Linked DNA regions of Homo sapiens: regions 1 and 3 are each linked to region 2. The links are contacts of gene promoters, found by promoter capture Hi-C in blood cells and fetal thymus (Javierre and others, 2016). All regions are on one chromosome and are shown on one strand. Each heading gives the region's core, a stretch centred on a gene start or on the middle of the fragment in contact. The rest is flanking DNA. Distances are from core to core; before and after follow the strand shown.

The links. The method cuts DNA at HindIII sites, captures the fragments that hold promoters and counts their contacts. A CHiCAGO score of 5 or more calls a contact.
Region 1: a fragment that was not itself captured here is called in contact with the fragment with the promoter of KRT31 in region 2 in 2 of 17 cell types (total CD8 T cells and total CD4 T cells); the score reaches 5.3 in total CD8 T cells.
Region 3: a contact is called between a fragment that was not itself captured here and the fragment with the promoter of KRT31 in region 2, in 1 of 17 cell types (total CD4 T cells). The highest score is 6.1, in total CD4 T cells.

What each region holds. Positions count from the first base shown.
Region 1 is chr17:41,134,626-41,137,620 of GRCh38, forward strand. No RefSeq gene overlaps it. Among named protein-coding and RNA genes, the nearest start is that of KRTAP4-6, 4.4 kb to the right of the region's middle. The HindIII fragment of the contact is 2,780 bases long and covers 1-2,771 here.
Region 2 is chr17:41,396,135-41,399,633 of GRCh38, forward strand. KRT31 (keratin 31) reads right to left here and starts at 1,474. Exons shown (of 7, transcript NM_002277.3): 1 at 1,058-1,474; 2 at 779-861; 3 at 286-442. The coding sequence starts at 1,405. The HindIII fragment of the contact is 10,261 bases long and covers 1-3,499 here.
Region 3 is chr17:41,107,891-41,111,062 of GRCh38, forward strand. LOC124904002 (a long non-coding RNA gene) reads left to right here and starts at 342. Exons shown (of 2, transcript XR_007065754.1): 1 at 342-489; 2 at 2,114-3,172. The HindIII fragment of the contact is 4,149 bases long and covers 1-3,172 here.

The DNA.
Region 1 (2,995 bases), core at 132-2,631, 260 kb before region 2:
ATTCACACTGTATGCATAGTGGAGGAACCTCAAGGTGAGAAACTGCTGATACTAAATAGTGCATGTCCTTGAAATAATCAGAAACAAAAGCAAAAGGAATAGCACACAGAAAGAACACCCCAAAAAGAAAAAAATATAAAAATAAAAAAGCATTAAGCACAAGGAAAAATAAACCTCTAAGAAACCACACACAGATTGCATGGGATCCCCCACAGGGGTCAATTTCTGCATAAGATAAATGCATAGGCAAATATTACAAAATATGTAAGAAAATAATTTATCATGAGTAGTATAGTAGACACAGGAAAAGGGAATATAACCCCTGGGAATTGAGATAACTGAAAATTCTGAAGGAGACTATATATAAATGGGTTTAAAAGGTAAACAAAAAATGGAAATCGGGGGGTTGGGGGCAAGGGGAGGGAGAGCATTAGGACAAATACCTAATGCATGTGGGGCTTAAAACCTAGATGATGGGCAGGGTGCAGTGGCTCATGCCTGTAATCCCAGCACTTTGGGAGGCTGAGATGGGCAGATCACGAGGTCAGGAGATCGAGATCATCCTGGCAAACATGGTGAAACCCCGTCTGTACCAAAAATACAAAAATTATCTGGGCATGGCTGTGTGCACCTATAGTCCCAGCCACTTGGGAGGCTGAAGCGGGAGAACTGCTTGAACCCAGGAAGTGGAGGTTGCGGTGAGCTGAGATCGGGCCACTGCACTCCAGCCTGGTGATAGAGCAAGACTCTGTCTCAAAAAAAAAAAAAAAAAAACACCTAGGCGATGGGTTGATGAGTGCAGCAAACCACCATGGCACGTGTATACCTATGTAACAAACCTGCACGTTCTGCACATGTATCTCAGAACTTAAAGTATATTAAATAAAAATTTAAAAATGAAAATCATAATGAAGAAATGGAATATAGAAAATGACTGATTTGGAAAAGAACAATGTAGAATTACCCTTTGTTGGGACCATCCTTCCTATCACTTTCCTTTTACTTGAAGCCTTTCTTTTGTTTTTTGTTTTTGTTTTTATTTTTATTTTTTGAAACAGAGTCTTGCTCTGTCGCCCAGCCTGGAGTGCAGTAGTGCAATCTCAGCTCACTGCAACCTCTGCCTCCTGGGTTCAAGCAATCCTTCCACCTCAGTCTCCTGAGTAGCTGGGATTACAGGCGCCTGCCACCATGCCCAGCTAAGTTTTGTATTTTTACTAGAGATGGGGTTTCTCCATGTTGGTCAGGCTGGTCTCCAACTCCTGACCTCAAAGTGACCCACCCACCTCGGCCTCCCAAACTGCTGGGATTACAGACGTTAGCCACAGCTCCTGGCCTAGTCTTTTTCTTTTGGCAAAGTTTTCTGTTAACCTATTCTCTCATTTCTGTTTTCCTGAAAATAACTTAATTTCATTATCTTTTTTGTTTCTCTGGGCATATAATTCTCTATCGGCAGTGTTTCCCTTCACAAGATGTCTCTTCATCGTCTTCTCACTTCCATTATTTCAGTTGAGTTTTAGGCTTCCTGTTCTTTTTGTAAAAGTGTATGTTGTTTTTTCCCCTGTTGCTTTTACTTATTTTATTATTTTATTATAAAATTATATATATATAATTTAAGGTGTACAATACAATGTTTTGATATACATTGTAAAATGATTACTAAAGGCAAGATAATCAACATATTCATTGCCTCACATAGTTAGTTGCCTTTGTGTGTGTGTGTGTGTGCATGTGTGTGTGTGTGAAAACACTTAACATCTACTCTCTTAGCAAGTTTCAAGCATACAGTACAGTATTATTAACTGTAGTCACCATGCTGTACATTAAATTTTTAGAATTTATTCATTCTACATAACTGGAACCTTGTACCCTTTGACAGATATCTTCTAATTTCCCTCACCTTCCTGCCCCTAATAACCACCATTCTACTCTCTGCTTTTGTGAGTTTCACTTTTTTTAAGGTTCCACATATAAGTGACATCATGCAGTACTTTTCCTTCCGTGTTTGCCTTATTTCACTTAACATAGTATCCTCCAGGCTCATCCATCTTGTCACAAATGGCAGAATTTCCTTTTTTAAAGCTGAATAATATTTCTTTATATGTATGCTTTAACATATATTAATATTATTATATATGATGTGTGTGTGTATGTGTGTGTGTGTGTGTATATATATGTGTGTATATATATATATATATATCTCCATTCATCCTTTAATGGACACATACTGAATCCATATCCTGGCTATTGAGAATAATGTTGCAGTAAACATGAGGTGCAGATAACTCCAGGATACTGATTTTTTACCTTCAGATATATACCTAGAAGTGGAATTGCTAGATTTTATATGGCAGACCTATTGTAATTTTCAAAGAAACTTCCATACTGTTTTCTATAATGGCTGTATCCATTTCTTGTTACGTTTATGATTTTCTTTTTATCTTTGGTTTTCAACAACTTTCCTTGATGTGCCTACATGTTGTTTTTCTTTTTATTCACTCTGCTTGGGTTCAGAGATGTTCTAGAATCTGTGACTGGAGGTCTGTCATCAATTGTCTCAAATTGCCATCCAGTATCTCTTTGTTTATAACTTCTCCATTCTCTCTTCTCTCTTTCTGGGACTCCAATTTACATGTATGTTAGACTTTTCACTATGCTCCAAGTGTGTCTTATGCTATTTTCTCCATTTTAAAACTTTTCTTCTCTCTGCATTCCAATGTGAATATTTTCTACTTCCATTTTGCTGTTCCTCTCTCCTGTCTAATCTTCTGTTAAGCTTATTTATTGAATTCTTAATTTCAGTTTTTGAGTTTTTTGGTTCTAGAATTTTTACTGAACTTTTTAAAAATAGATTCTACTTCTTTAATAAAATTTACATTTTTAATCTATTATTTCAAACATATTAATTGTAAGTATTCTAAAGTCAGTGTTAGTACCTGTATATAGATCATCCTTGGCTCTGTTTCTATTTTCTTTTTTCTTCTTGATTTTGCTCATT
Region 2 (3,499 bases), core at 224-2,723:
AATAACACTGCAATGCTAGGACTCATTCTACAACTATTGATCAACTGCAAGCACATGGAGCTGCTCCGGGCAACTCAAATAATGTGCTAGTTTAAAGTGAAAGATGTTTCCTGTCTGGGAACATGAACAGGTCTTATCTCTCTCCAATTTTTCTCTTACCGTGATGTTTTCAAAGGAAACCCTCAGTCTTGTACTCATACTCTGCATTCTGCTGCCCCAAATCACTAAAGCAACCCTGAGCCAGAGGCTGAGACAGGTTTGTGCATTTCTCATTTCTAGTCTCACCTGCTCATGGTTGCTCTTGAGGCAGAGCAGCTCCTCCTTCAGGGACTCCACCTGGGCCTCCAGGTCGGACTTGCACAGGGTCAGCTCATCCAGGATCCTGCGCAGACCGTTGATGTCCGACTCCACCAGCTGCCGCAGGGACAGCTCGGTCTGGTACCTGCGCAAGGACAGGGTCAGAGTACTACCTGGTAGATCTTCAAGACTCACAGGAATGATTTTTGATAACCTCATGTGCCTTATCTTTCCACTTTCTGTAATGAATAGGCCCAGGAGACAGAGGTTTCTGGAGGCTCCATCAATACCCAATATTCATCCCAAAACAAACAGATTGATGTGAGTCCTCATCCATTTTTGCATTTCTTTGCTTGGTTCTCCCCAGTCCTCTGCAGAATCCTTCACAACAAGTGGGTAGATCTGTTTTCAGATGGAAATCCCTTTTCTTTAAAGATTAAACAGAAGCAATTGACACTAGTGCAAATTCCGAACAACTCACTTGGTTCTGAAATCATCCGCAGCCAGCTTGGCGTTGTCGATCTGCACCACAAGCCTGGCATTCTCAGACTTGGTACACAGGATCTGGGGAGTGAGAGGTGGCTTAGTGAGGACTGAAAATAAATATGAAATCATCAACTTTTTAAAAATGACTTAAGCCATTTTGAAATAAAAGAGGAAGCAAGAATTATGACAGCACAGAAGCAAGAAACACACTTCTCTATCACAGACAGAATCACAGCAAACTCTCTTGCTTGGAGATGACAGCAATGCCGCTCACCTTCTGCTGGAGCTCCTCAATGGTCTTAAAATAGGACTGGTAACTGGGGCACAGCAAGGGCTCCTGCTGCTGAGACCGCTCCCGGATGAGGTTCTCCAGCTCCGCGTTGTCCCGCTCCAGCTGACGCACTTTCTCCAGGTAGCTGGCCAGGCGGTCGTTCAGGAACTGCATAGTCTCCTTCTCGCTACCATTGAAGGAGCCCTCGCAGAACCAGTTGCAGTTGCTCACATTGGCGGGGATGTTGCAGGCCCCGGGCAGGGTGCAGCTGTGGCAGCTGGGGGGCACGCAGGGCCGGGAGGAGCAGCTGGTGCGGCAGCTCAGGCTGGGCAGGCAGAAGTTGTAGGGCATAGTGCTGGGAGGGAGGGAGGGAGTGCCTGGCTGAAGACAGAGTCTAAATTCTCCAAGCCACAGAGCTGTGGGTCTCCTTCCTCTAGGGAGCATTTATATCCCACTGCAGAGGGTGTGGACACAGTATGTAATGTCTTTTTTCTTTTTATTTCTTCACTTCTTTTCAAACGCCCTTTCCTTCAGTCTGTTATTTGCCTTCCTCTGAAGAGTCCCTTCTCCCATAAAATTCTTTACTTGGGCTTCTTGCTAAGTCAGGACTCCTCCGCAGACAGTCCACCCATGAAATCAGAGTTCTGTGGTAGGCCTTCAAAGAGGCTACACAGTCCAGCCCAAGTATCTGCCCTCATTAATTGAGGTGTTGATCCATCCGATGACATTCTTTTGTGTCACATAATTCTGCAGGCCCATAAACATACTCATGTCCTGGTCCACCTGCCGTTTCTAGGGAGAAACACGGATTGATTTGAGGAAGAAGTTGCATTAAGAGGCCACAGTGGACTGTCTTTCCCTCTGCATTTAGAGAAGAATCTTCAAATGATGGAGCATTCTGTGCCTTGGAAGCCTTAAGGTGGATGATTAGAATCAATGGAGGACACGACTGAAAAGATTAGACAGCGATTTGTGTTTTACGGGTCCGTGTAATACTTCCCCCCCACCACCACATATTACTTAAGAAAATTGTAGAGGAGAGAATTTTAAAGGTAGAGGCTTTGATAACTAGTTGGAGAACAAGAAGTTTCTGGGGTAAGAGATCGTTTTGAAAGAGGCTGAAAAGTGCAAACCGAGAGAGCCATAAAAAACACATTTAAGGCTGGGCACAATGGCTCACGCCTGTAATCTCAATACTTTGGGAGGCCGAGGCCGGCGGATCACGAGGTCTAGAGATAGAGACCATCCTGGCCAACATAGTGAAACCCATCTCTACTAAAAATACAAAAAAATTAGCTGGGCATGGTGGCACCCACCTGTAGTCCCAGCTACTCGGGAAGCTGAGGCAGGAGAATCACTTGAACCTGGGAGGTGAAGGTTGCAGTAAGCCGAGATGGTGCCACTGCACTCCAGCCTGGTGACAGAGCAAGACTCCATCTCAAAATACAAAACAAAACAAAAAAAATGCATTTAAATAATCTAGGAAAGATATTCAGGGGCAGAGAGAAAGGAATAAGGAGGTCTTTGTCAAACATTTCCTAAGGTTATCCATAGTATCCGAACAGAGTAGATGGATATGTTAGGAAAGTCAGGAGATAGCCCAAAGGGGCCTCCACGGCCTGAAATCACTTGTAGTTGATCTTTAAACTTCATATGAATTGACCCTATATTCCATAATATATCCATGTTGGCTTTAATCTTTATATATATATATATATATATATTTTTTTTTTTTTTTCAGATGGAGTCTTGCTCTGTCACCCAGGCTGGAGTGCAGTGGAGCGATCTCGGCTCACTGCAAGCTCCGCCTCCCAGATTCATGCCATTCTCCTGCCTCAGCCTCCTGAGTAGCTAGGACTACAGGTGCCCACCACCACGCCCGGCTAATTTTTTGTATTTTTAGTAGAGATGGAGTTTCACCGTGTTAGCAAGGATGGTCTCAATCTCCTGACCTCGTGATCCACCCGCCTCAGCCTCCCAAAGTGCTGGGATTACAGGCGTGAGCCACCGCGCCCAGCCAGCTTTAATGTTTTTAAAAAGCCCCTTTTAAATTTCCAGTTAAACTTTCAAATACTTTGCTTAATTCTCTAAGAGAAATGGATACATCAGGAAGATGTACCATATTCTGTCCTGGGCTTCCCATCTCCAGCCCGAGTGGAGATGCCACCTGCTTTAAGAACCAAAGGTCTAAAGGTACCAAAGGAGGTCTCTGTGGTTGTGTAATTAAATCCAAGGACCTGGGCACCAGGAAAGAAAATGCTGAGCACGGCATGAGCAAGGGGGTTTTGCAAGGCAAGCTGGAGTCATTTGGGGTTGCTTTGGGAGGTGAAGGAAGGCACTAGAAGATCTGAGGAAGAGGTAGCCAAAGTTCTGAATATATAAAAGTTGCAGCACCCCCATCTCCACTGTGGCTTTGGCTGCCAGCCAGAGCTGCCGTTTTATTGA
Region 3 (3,172 bases), core at 312-2,811, 290 kb before region 2:
ACCTTAGCAAAATAAACTTTCTCAATTAACTGAGACCTGTCTCAGATTTTCTGGGTTAACATTTTGGTAACTGTGAAAGGATTCTGAGTGGAGATGCCCTTGACCTTTGACGAATATCCTGTTGGTGCCTGGTAATAGCATGAGCTAACTTTATGGCTCAAATCAATAGGACAATTTGCTGAGGTCTGGGAGCACCCTCCCCAAAGAATCCCTGATCTCCCCAAATTTGGTGAAGAACTAAAGTTCATTTTGCTGTACAACTGCCCCACCTATTTTTGTTTTTGGAGTTTTACTTGCTTACTTGCCTTCCTTATAAGGAAGGCAAGATTTACTTTTACTTCCTTTACAAGGAAGGCAAGATTTCCTGCTTCCATGATGATGAAAGGCATGTAGAGTTTGAGCTCACTCCCAGCAGGGAAGACCAGTTTGAGTTTTTTTCCTGCTTCTAGGGTGGTAGAAAGCAGCCTTCAGCCTGAGACCCATCCCTAGGTAAGTAGCTGAACTGGGGCTTTGTCTGGGCTAAAGTTTAACAACCAGCTAGCTGCTCTTAATTTCTCCTTATCATTAGAGTGCTTGGTAATCCTATGGTTGGAGATTTTGTTGTTTGTTTTGGTCTTTCTCCCATCAGACTTGACCAACTCTACCTGACTTGGTCAAATCCAAGTGAGAATTCAAAATTACGGGTAACAAAACCTCTCTAATTTGGCTAAAATTCATTGCAGCTGCAAAAGAAGAAAACAAACAAAAAGAACCAAAAACCCATGCACTTGGTTTCTGTGTTTGCTTCCTGTCTTAAAACACGAATGTTCTTTCGTTTACTTTTCTTGCACCATATACCTCCTCCCCCTTTGCCATATGCAGTACCAAAAAGTCTAGAGAAGGCTTCTAATGACTTGAACCCCCTTAAAGAATTCAGAACAAAGGTTGCCACTCACCCCTTTTGGGGTGTTTTGTTTTCTTTGTGGAGTTTCAAGAGTCATGGGTAGATTCTTCTTAACTCTAAACCTCTATTTTCCTGTATTGCATGACCTGACCTCTTTGGCTTTGACCTTGTTGTGTATAGTGGTAGATGAGAGCTACAAAGTTAAGGGGTGGCTGAGCAAGGTTTACAAAAAGTGGTCTTGGCTGTTGTTTTGTTTTCCTTCTAGGAATTTGTCGTTTAAAGATCCTAATTCTAGTTCACAAATGCATTCTAAAGGATCTTCTCTGTTGCTTTTTCTCCCCAAATTAAGCTCAATTCAGCTTGTCTGTGTGCATTTGCATGAGGAACTGAACTGTTGTTTTCAGTGGTGACCCACTGTGGAGTCCTGCCCACAAATGGCACATATTGATCCACCACAGAAAACCTCTAGGCCTCAGCTCAGTTCCTCTTTTTAAGAAGAAAACTGGGAAACAAATAATCTAAGAATGAGGAGAAAGCAAAGAGAATGATTCCCTTTCAAGCACTCCATAGGTTTTATGGCACCTGTACTTGCCAGAGTTTAAGTAAAATGGAAGTAATATGGTCTTTGTGCATATTTACATTAAGAAAGAAAGGGCCCATGTAAATTAGTTCAACCATTGTGGAAGACAGTATGGTGATTCCTCAAGGATCTAGAATCAGAAATACCATTTGATCCAGCAATCCCATTACTTGTTATATACCCAAAGGAATACAAATCATTCTACTATAAAGACACAGGCACATGTATGTTTATTGCAGCACTATTTACAAGAGCAAAGACATGGAACTAACCCAAACGCCCATCAATTATAGACTTGATAAAGAAAATGTGGTACATATACACCATGGAATACGATGCAGCCATAAAACGGAGTGAGATCATGTCCTTTGTAGGGACATGGATGAAGCTGGAAACCATCATCCTCAGCAAACTAACACAGAAACAGAATACCAAATACAACATGTTCTCACTCATATATGGGAGTTGAACTTTGAGAACACATGGACACAGAGAGGAGAGCAACACATATCAGGGGCTGTTGGGGGGTGGGGAATGAGAGGAGGGAATTTAGAGGATGGGTCAATAGGTGCAGCAAACCACCAAGGCACACATATACCTATGTAACAAACCTGCACGTTCTCCTGCATGTGTATTTCATTTTTTTTTAGAAGAGAAAGAAAAGAAGGAAAGAAAGCAAGCAAGCAAGAAAGCAAGCAAGCAAGAAAGAAAGAAAGAAAGAAAGAAAGAAAGAAAGAAAGAAAGAAAGAAAGAAAGAAAGAAAAGAAAAAGAAAGAAAAGAAGAGCCTTAAGGTCAACCTACAAACTACAGAGTTCCTAAGTTCTCTTTTTTCTCTATTTTCTTTTCTGCCTGCTTTAAATCTGCTGTTATTTTTCTATTAAGATCAAAACCACTGTTTGGATACAACAGGCTTTTTGTTTGCAACCTGGTGAATTTGTATTTGTCTCATGGCTAAAGTTCTGAAGTAAAAGCTATAGGATTTCTGTGTGTGTGTTTGTGTGTGTGTGTGTGTGTGTGTGTGTATCTATTTAAAAGGCCTTTATAATTTTTATAATTTTATGTTTAATTGGCAATTAAATCCATTTTGACTTCCCTCTAGCACCACCAGACTTTTTCTCTCTGTACCTTATGATATAATTTTGCTATTTGATTTTTGCCTGAGTTGTTTCCTTTAACATGCAAACTTAAGGCTATTTAGCTGACAACTCCCTAGGGGAGTAAAACAGGTTATTAAGAATTTGAAAGCCTAAGATAGGGGAAAAAAGCTCCTTAAGTATCTATACGATGTACTTCTATCAGCATGCCTACTATGTCTATATATTTATGTGATGTGTACACAATTTCTCGCTACTGAAAATATATAAAAGAGTTCTAATTAATTGGCTTAAGATAAAAAGCACTTGAATCTAATACTTTATCAGGAAAAAAGAAAAGACTAGTTGAATGCTTTCTGAAGTTTATGTAACAAGTAAAATCTTTAATAAATAAGCTAGCTTTAAAATTATTGGTAAAGTAATATTAGACATGTCTTAAAAATTGCCAGCATGCATTTTTGTTTGCATTTATTAATCAAGCAATTTCATGCTTATCCCTGTCAAATACCATAAGGTGTCAAAATTTGCCATGGAGTTACAAAACTGTAATAGAATGATCTTTGCTTGTATAATCTTTAATAAATAAGACATTGATATTGGTTTAATAAAAATAG